Regions from separate parts of the Homo sapiens genome. Here all the other regions are linked to region 2. The links are contacts of gene promoters, found by promoter capture Hi-C in human tissues and cell types (Jung and others, 2019). All regions are on one chromosome and are shown on one strand. The core of a region is centred on a gene start or on the middle of the fragment in contact, and the rest is flanking DNA. Distances in the headings are between cores, read along the strand shown. Region 1 overlaps SMC1A (structural maintenance of chromosomes 1A). Region 2 holds the start of HSD17B10 (hydroxysteroid 17-beta dehydrogenase 10). Region 3 has its middle 35 kb from the start of HSD17B10.

What was found. Contacts are between HindIII fragments. The study calls those that stand out against the background at their distance.
Region 1: a contact is called between a fragment that was not itself captured here and the fragment with the promoter of HSD17B10 in region 2, in 2 of the 25 tissues and cell types used here (adrenal gland and lymphoblastoid cells).
Region 3: a contact is called between a fragment that was not itself captured here and the fragment with the promoter of HSD17B10 in region 2, in 1 of the 25 tissues and cell types used here (adrenal gland).

What each region holds. Positions count from the first base shown.
Region 1 is chrX:53,393,204-53,395,903 of GRCh38, reverse strand. SMC1A (structural maintenance of chromosomes 1A) reads left to right here. Exons shown (of 25, transcript NM_006306.4): 19 at 1,016-1,126. Among named protein-coding and RNA genes, the nearest start is that of MIR6857, 11 kb to the left of the region's middle. The HindIII fragment of the contact is 5,879 bases long and covers 1-2,700 here.
Region 2 is chrX:53,433,012-53,435,711 of GRCh38, reverse strand. It overlaps HSD17B10 (hydroxysteroid 17-beta dehydrogenase 10), which reads left to right and starts at 1,342. Exons shown (of 6, transcript NM_004493.3): 1 at 1,342-1,393; 2 at 1,826-1,990. The coding sequence starts at 1,367. The HindIII fragment of the contact is 21,717 bases long and covers 1-2,700 here.
Region 3 is chrX:53,468,505-53,471,204 of GRCh38, reverse strand. No RefSeq gene overlaps it. Among named protein-coding and RNA genes, the nearest start is that of HSD17B10, 35 kb to the right of the region's middle. The HindIII fragment of the contact is 9,397 bases long and covers 1-2,700 here.

The DNA.
Region 1 (2,700 bases), core at 4-2,503, 40 kb after region 2:
TGACAGAAATTGGTAGGAGTGGGAATTGAGGGACATTAGCCAAGAGCAAAGGAAGACAGAAAGCTAGGGGACCTGAGGGTGATAGCTTAGCTGCAGTGAGGAAGATTGGCCAGGAGAGGGTTAGGTAAGGGACATCAGCAATGCAGAGGTGAGGAAGTTTAGTTATAGGAAAACCAGAGATACTAGCCAAAGAGGAGCAGTGGAAGCAAAGATTTGTAGCAAGGGGATGGGAAATGTTAACTGAGAGGAGGTTTGCATATATTAATATCTTGTCTTAGACCTGGTTATATATCTCAGTCCCATGTATCTTTCTCCCTCCTCACTTTCCAAATGGCATTTCAGTTTAATTCAGTAAAATATTTTGAATACCAGAAATGTTCTGGGCATCATGGTAGCATGTGACATAATTACCCCAATCCTAACCACAGACCTGCCAGACAGGCATTATCCCCACATTACAGGTGAAGAGACTCAGGATCTGAGAATGTGACTTGCCCAAAATCACAATGTTAGTAAGTGTAGACCTCAAATTTTTTTTATTTATTTTTATTTTTATTTTTTGAGACAGAGTCTTGTTTTGTCACCCAGGCTGAAGTGCAGTGGCGTGATCTTGGCTCACTGCAGCCTCCGCCTCCCAGTTTCAAGTGATTCTTGTGCCTCAGTCTCCCATGTAGCTGGGATTACAGGCATGCACCACCACTCCTGGCTAATTTTTGTGTTTTTAGTAGAGACAGAGTTTCATTATGTTGGCCAGGCTGGTCTCAAACTCCTGACCTGAAGTGATTCACCTGCCTTGGCCTCCCAAAGTGCTGGGATTATAGGCGCAAGCCACTGCACCTGGCCATAGAGCTCAATTTTGAACTTGAGTCATTCTGCCTGCAAAGCCTCTGTTCCTTCTGCCATGGTGCTTTCTAGCAAGGTGCTTTCTCAAAGATTGAAGGCTGCAAAGGAGCTCCCTATAGAGGTGCACTCTCATGGCCAGTCTGCTCCACTTGACTCTCCGTTGCCATTGCAGGGTAGCTCCCAGGGGGAGGACTCAGTGAGTGGTTCACAGAGAATTTCCAGTATCTATGCACGAGAGGCCCTCATTGAGATTGACTACGGTGATCTGTGTGAGGATCTGAAGGTGAGGATCAACCACAGGGGTGTGGTGGGGGTGGGGGTTGGGTGGGAGTGGGACTATCTTCCTAGTTGTCCAGAGAGGAGGTCAGCCCATCTGGGGGCTCTGTGAAGACCATGGCTGGAAAGAGGGGAAAGCTGGCAAGGGTGGGAGGATTCAGTTGTGAGGCAGGATCTCCACCTCATATATTCAAACAGACATATGCACATTCCCTACCCCATACCCCAAGTTGCCCCTGCCCTTGCCTGCTATCAGTCTTCCCCTTCCATGTGTGTATATAACTAAGCTAAGCCTAGGTCCACACAGAGAAGAGACTTCAGTACAGTGAACAGATTGACCTCAGGTGTTCCTCAGGGCTCTTTCCTCCTCACTTGGCATTCTTTCATCCTGGATATCACTTTACTTCCGTGGCTTCCGCTGCAATCTCTATGCTAGGTCCCACAGGTACCTCAAGCCCTAGCCTTCCTCCCCATATTTACCCATCTCCTCAGTGCCACTCACATGCTCAGCCAGAAATTTGAGCCTCATCCTTGACTTCTCCCTCTTTCACTTTACATAATCAATTAATTACCAAGCACCAAGCCCTATGGATTCTGCCTCCTAAATATCTTTTTTTTTTTTTTTTTTTTTTGAGACGGAGTTTCACTCTTGTTGCCCAGGCTGGAGTGCAGTGGCATGATCTCGACTCACTGCTGCAACCTCTGCCTCCCAGGTTCAAGCGATTCTCCTGCCTCAGCCTCCCAAGTAGCTGAGATTACAGGTGCCCGCCATCATGCCCAGCTAATTTTTAGTAGAGGCGGGGTTCTACCATGTTGGTCAGGCTGGTCTTGAACTCCTGACCTCAGGTGATCTGCCTACCTTGGCCTCCCAAAGTGCTGAGATTACAGGTGTGAGCCACTGTGCCCGGCCCTAAATATCTATTGAATTCTGGTTTTTGTTTCCACTGTCTAATGCAGGCCACTTTCATCTCACATAGCCAACTACAGGAGCCTCCTAAATAGTTTATGATGTGTTTCAATCATCATTATATTCAGGAGGATTTGATTTTTTTAACTTATGGAAAATTTCAAGCATATGGAAGTAAAGAGAATGATAATAATGAACCTCAGGCACTCAGCTTCAACAGTTAAGCAATCTTATTTTTTATACCCCCCATTGGAGTATTTTAAAGAAAACTAGACATTACTCCATCCATAATTACCTCAGCATGTATCTCTAGAATATGAGAACTTTTAAGAAAAACAACCATAATATTATATCTGAAAATATTTAACAATAACTCCACAATATCATCTAATCAGTAAATGTTTAGATTTCCATGAAAGTCCCATAATATTTTTTTATTTTTATTTTTTTTGCAGTTTATGTGTTTAGATCAATATTCCAGTAAGGTCCATATGTTAAAATTGGTCTCTGCTAGTCTATAACATTTTCTTCTTCGTTTTTATTTTATTTTTTTCCTTCGTATTTATCTATGGAAGGAACTGGGTCGTTGGTACTATAGAATTGTCTGCATTCTAGATTTGGCTGATTATGTCCCCTTGATGTTACTGAACATGTTTTTTCTATTCCTTGTATTT
Region 2 (2,700 bases), core at 93-2,592:
TTTGAATATTTAGGGAGGACCCCTCTGGGAAGGTGATATTTAAGCTTAGTTCTGAATGAAAAAAAATAAAAGCAGTCATGCAAAGATCAGGGGAGAGCATTCCAAGCAGAGGGAGCAGCTAATGCAAAGATGAACACAAAGGAGGCCACTGTGGCTACAGCATATTGGGCCGGATGAAGAGTGCTATAAATTGATGGAAGCACTTCATGTAGATAGGAAAATTGTGAGACCGGTGTGCTAAATCCTTTGGTAAATACGGTGTAGTGATTATGAGTGTGGTGGCTGTCAACAACTAGAAGGCCTGGAGGGGAATCTTCCTGGGTGAGAAAGCAAGTGGGGGGAGATATTTCAGATAGAGAAAACATAAAGCAGTTCTGAGGCTGAAATGGTGGGCTAAGATTTATGGCCTGAAGACCTTGGTTTGAGGAAAAGTATAGAAGGAAGACAGATTAGATATCTGGGCTCAAGACTCTAATGACATAGCTTCTGGAAGCTGCCTGAAAGATGTTCTAGGATGACAAAGACCTGGGTCTTAAATAATAGTCTCTGGTTGAAGTCCAATCTGCAGTGTGTGATCTGGGCTTTTGGACTTAAATTAGACAAAGATAGAGGAGAGTAGCAAAGCCTGAACTGATGAAAGATGTTTTTGCCTCTTTAGGTTTGTGCTTCTCAGCAGCTGTCCTAGAATGTCTGTCTCCAAGCATCTCTCTTAGCGGCTTTCCACATTCATCTCTCTGTGATCCTACCTGGCATCTCTCTTCCTATCTCGGCCTCAACATATTTCTCTTTACATGGCTCTCTCTCTCTCTAACTCAGACTCCTCATCTTTGGATCTCCTTGTCTGAGTGTCCCAGAATCTGGTTCCGTCCATTCGTCTGTGTCTGTACTGTAATTCTCTTTCTCCACCTGGACTGTGCCCTCCTGGAAGGCATGAATCTTTTATTATTCCGCTGGGTATCCCAGGTGCCCCGCACACCGTCTAGCATATAGGAGTCTCAAATACATTCATACTTGAATTAAGACTTTTTCAGAGGAGAAAGGCATCCGTTCTCAATATCCACCCCTCTTCCCCCACGCGGAGCAGGCCACTTGCCAAAAGGCCAGCTAGAGAGTAGGGCGAGGGGTGTTGTGGTATTGTACTTCTGCTATTGGTCTCTTTCCCCAGTTGAAATAACTCTGGGGATACCTTAGCAGGCGGAATCCGCCCTCTGGCCAAAGGACTAGCGTACCAGGCCACGCCCCCACGTCTCATGCGGCAGCGGCAGACGCCCCGGCCCGTCGCATCCGCCCCTTCCGCCGCTTCGCCTCGGCCAATCAACGAGCGCCCGCGCCCCCATCCCCATCCCGTGGAGTGGCCGGCGACAAGATGGCAGCAGCGTGTCGGAGCGTGAAGGTAGAAGGTTCTTTGCCTCTGTTGCTTGCCTTCCTTTACGGGCCGGGACAGCGCGGCCGTGGAACTAGGAGAAAGAGATCGGTTTCGAGGGAAAGGGTCATGCTTATGTAGGCCTGGTATTGTGGCCGTTGGGCTCAAGAGGTGAAAGTCAGCACTCCGCGGCGCATCTGTCTGTCTGTCTGTCTGTCTATCTATCTATCTATCAATCATCTATCTATCTATCGTCACGGGACGGGCTGTCTGGGGATGAGATCCCTTCTGCCCCCGAGGTCCCAACGCTGAGGAGAAGCAGCACACCTAGTTTACCCGCAGGGGTGACCACGACCTCTCCCCTCCCCCCTTCTCCTCAGAAGCCTGGAGAACAGGCAGGCGACAGCGTGGGGATGGTCTGGGCAATGTAACAGCTGACCCTGACCATGTCCCTTTTGACAGGGCCTGGTGGCGGTAATAACCGGAGGAGCCTCGGGCCTGGGCCTGGCCACGGCGGAGCGACTTGTGGGGCAGGGAGCCTCTGCTGTGCTTCTGGACCTGCCCAACTCGGGTGGGGAGGCCCAAGCCAAGAAGTTAGGAAACAACTGCGTTTTCGCCCCAGCCGACGTAAGTGGGGTCACCTCTCCTCTCCCAGGGTGTGCATGAGGTCACCAACACCGGCCTGGGAACCTGTGGGGGTCCCTCCCATAAGGGTCTCCTCTATGGGGGCGGTAGACCCATCTCCTTGTCTCTTTTGGCCTGAGCCTTCAAGCACTGTGGGACCACCTGTGATAAGGATTCTCTAAAGCTGGGATTCACAACAATGAGGATGGGGATTGGACGTAACAATCTCCTGGAGGAGTTATGTATGGTTTGAAAATGCATTTTGTGCCTTGTAATTTTATATTTACAAAGTCAAAAAACTTGTTTTCATGAAACAAACTACAGAAAGTGAAACTTGATGAAATCATCTTAGCAGGTAAGGATACAAAAAAGCTAGTTTATCTTCCTATCAATAATTCTCACAAGAGGGTTATTTTTTATTTTTATTTTTGAGATGGAGTCTCGCTCTGTTGCCCAGGCTGGAGTGCAGTGGCACAATCTCAGCTCCTTGCAACCTCCATCTTCTGGGTTCAAGCGATTTTCCTGCCTCAACCTCCCAAGTAGCTGGGATTACAGGCACCTGCCACCACGCCCAGCTAATTTTTTTTTTTGTATTTTTAGAAGAGATGGGGTTTCACCATGTTGGCCGGGCTGGTCTTGAACTCCTGATCTCACGTGATCCGCCCGCCTCGGCCTCCCAAAGTGCTGGGATTACAGGTGTGAGCCACTGCACC
Region 3 (2,700 bases), core at 78-2,577, 36 kb before region 2:
TCTGACAAGGGTTATGTATCCAGAATATATAAGGAACTCTTACAACTCAATGACAAAAACAAAAACAACCAGATTTTTTTAATGAGCAGAGGACTTGAATGGATATATCTCCAAAGAAGATATACAAATGGCTAAGAAGCACATGAAAAGATGCTCAACATCACTAGTCAGTAGGGCAATGCAAATCAAAACCACAGTGAAATACCACTTCATCACCACTTGGATGGCTATAATCAGCAAAACAGAAAATAAGTGTTGGCAAGGATGTGGAGAAACTGGGACCCTCATACATTGCTGGTGGGAATACAAAATGGTTCAGCCACTGTGGAAACAGTTGGGCAGTTCCTCTAAAAGGTAACCATAGAGGCCGGGCGCAGTGGCTCACACCTGTAATTCCAGCACTTTGGGAGGCCGAGGCGGGCGGATCACGAAGTCAGGAGATCAAGACCATCCTGGCTAACATGGTGAAATCCCGTCTCTACTAAAAATACAAAAAACTAGCCGGGCGTGGTGACATGTGCCTGTAGTCCCAGCTACTCGGGAGGCTGAGGCAAGAGAATCGCTTGAACCCAGGAGGCGGAGGTTGCAGTGAGCCGAGATCGCACCACTGCACTCCAGCCTGGGCGACAGAGCGAGACTCCGTCTCAAAAAAAAAAGATAAAGAGAATCATCATCTTGTAGCAGGATGAGCCGCATACAAAACTCCTCAGACACCGGATTAAAGAAGGAAGAGGTTTTTATTCGTCTGGGAGCGTCGGCAGACTCGCGTCTTAAGAGCCGAGCTCCCCGAAAAAGAAATTCATAGCCCTTTTAAGGGCTTACAACTCTAAGGGGTCCACGTAAAAGGGTCATGATAGATCAAGTAAGCGTGAGGAACGTGACTGGGGGCTACATACATCAGCTAACAGAACAAAAAGTTTTACAGTGCTTTCTCATACAATGTCTGGAATTTACAGATAACACCAGTAATTTTGGTCAGGGGTTAATATTATTATTATTATTTTAACCACCAGGGCCAGGTGGTGGCGCCAAGGTCGTCTAGCTATTTATCTTACTTCTGTTTCTTTCCAACTTTTTGCTTTCTCCCTTTTCTCATGTCTTATAAACTAGGGAAAAGGGAAGGTGGGGGAGAAGCTGGGAAGGACAACAGGAGAAGTGTTGGTCTCGTTCCAATATGATCTAGCAATTCCACTCCTAAATATATACCCAAAAGAACTGAAAACTGATACTCAAGCACATCTAACACATGTTCATAGCAGCGGCATTCACAACAGCCAAAAGGTGGAACCAGTCCAAATGTCCATCAACAGATGAATGGCTAAACAAATTGTGGTACAGTTTGAGTATCCCTTATCCAAAATGCTTGGGACCAGAAGTGTTTTACATTTTGGATTTTTTTTGATTTGGGAATATTTATACATACATAATGAGATATCTTGGGGTGGAACCCAAGTCTAAATATGAAATTCATTTATGTTTTACATTCACCTTATACACATAGCCTGAAGGTAATTTTATACAATATATATGTATGTGTGTGTGTGTATGTATGTATTTCTTTTTTGAGATATGGTCTTGCTCTGTCACCCAGGCTGGTGTGCAGTAACGTGTTCTCAGCTCACTGCAGCCTCAACTTCACAGGCTCAAGCAATCCTCCCACCTCAGCCTCCCGAGTAGCTGGGACAACAGGCATGCACCACCACATTCAGCTAATTTTTGTATTTTTTATAGAGACAGGGTTTTGCCATGTTGCCCAGGCTGGTCTTCACCTCCTGAGCTCAAGTGATCCACTCACCTTCGCCTCCCAAAGTGCTGGGCCAGGTGCAGTGGCTCATGCCTGTAATCCCAGCACTTTGGGAGGCTGAGGCAGGTGGATCACCTGAGGTCAGGAGTTCAAGACCAGTCTGGCCAACATGGTGAAGCCCTGTCTCTACTAAAAATACAAAAATTTGCTGGATGTGGTGGTGCATGCCTGTGATCCCAGCTACTTGGGAGGCTGAGGCAGGAGAATTGCTTGAACCTGGGAGGCAGAGGTTGCCATGAGCCGAGATCAGGCACTCCAGCCTGGGTGACAGCAAGAATCTGTCTCAAAAAAAAAAAAAAAAATACAGTGCTGGATGACAGGCATGAGCCATCGCGCCTGGCCAATTTTATACAATATTTTAAATAATTCTGTGCATGAAACAAAGTTTGTGTTAAGTACTTATTTGTGGAATTTTCCACTGTGGCATCATTTCGGATCTGAAAACATTTTGGATTTTGAATTTTCAGATAAGGGATGCTCAACTTGTATATACATACAATGGAATATTATTCAGCCATGAAAAGGAATAAGGTGTATGCTACATGATGCCAAAGATCAATAAAGCCAGATATTAGTTAACAGTGGTGAAACCTGGCCCAGTGCGGTGGCTCACGCTTGTAATCCCAGCACTTTGGGAGGCCAAGGTGGGCAGATTGCTTGAGGCCAGGAGTTTGAGACCAGCCTAGTCAACATAGCAAAACCCTGTCTCTACTAAAACTACAAAAATTAGCCAGGCATGGTAGCGCACACTTGTAGTTCCAGCTACTCAGGAGGCTGAGGTAGGAGAATCGCTTGAACCCAGGAGGCAGAGGTTGCAGTGAGCTGAGATTGCTCCACTGCACTCCAGCTCGGGTGACAAGGGCAAGACTCCGTCTGAAAAAAAAAAAAAGTCACAT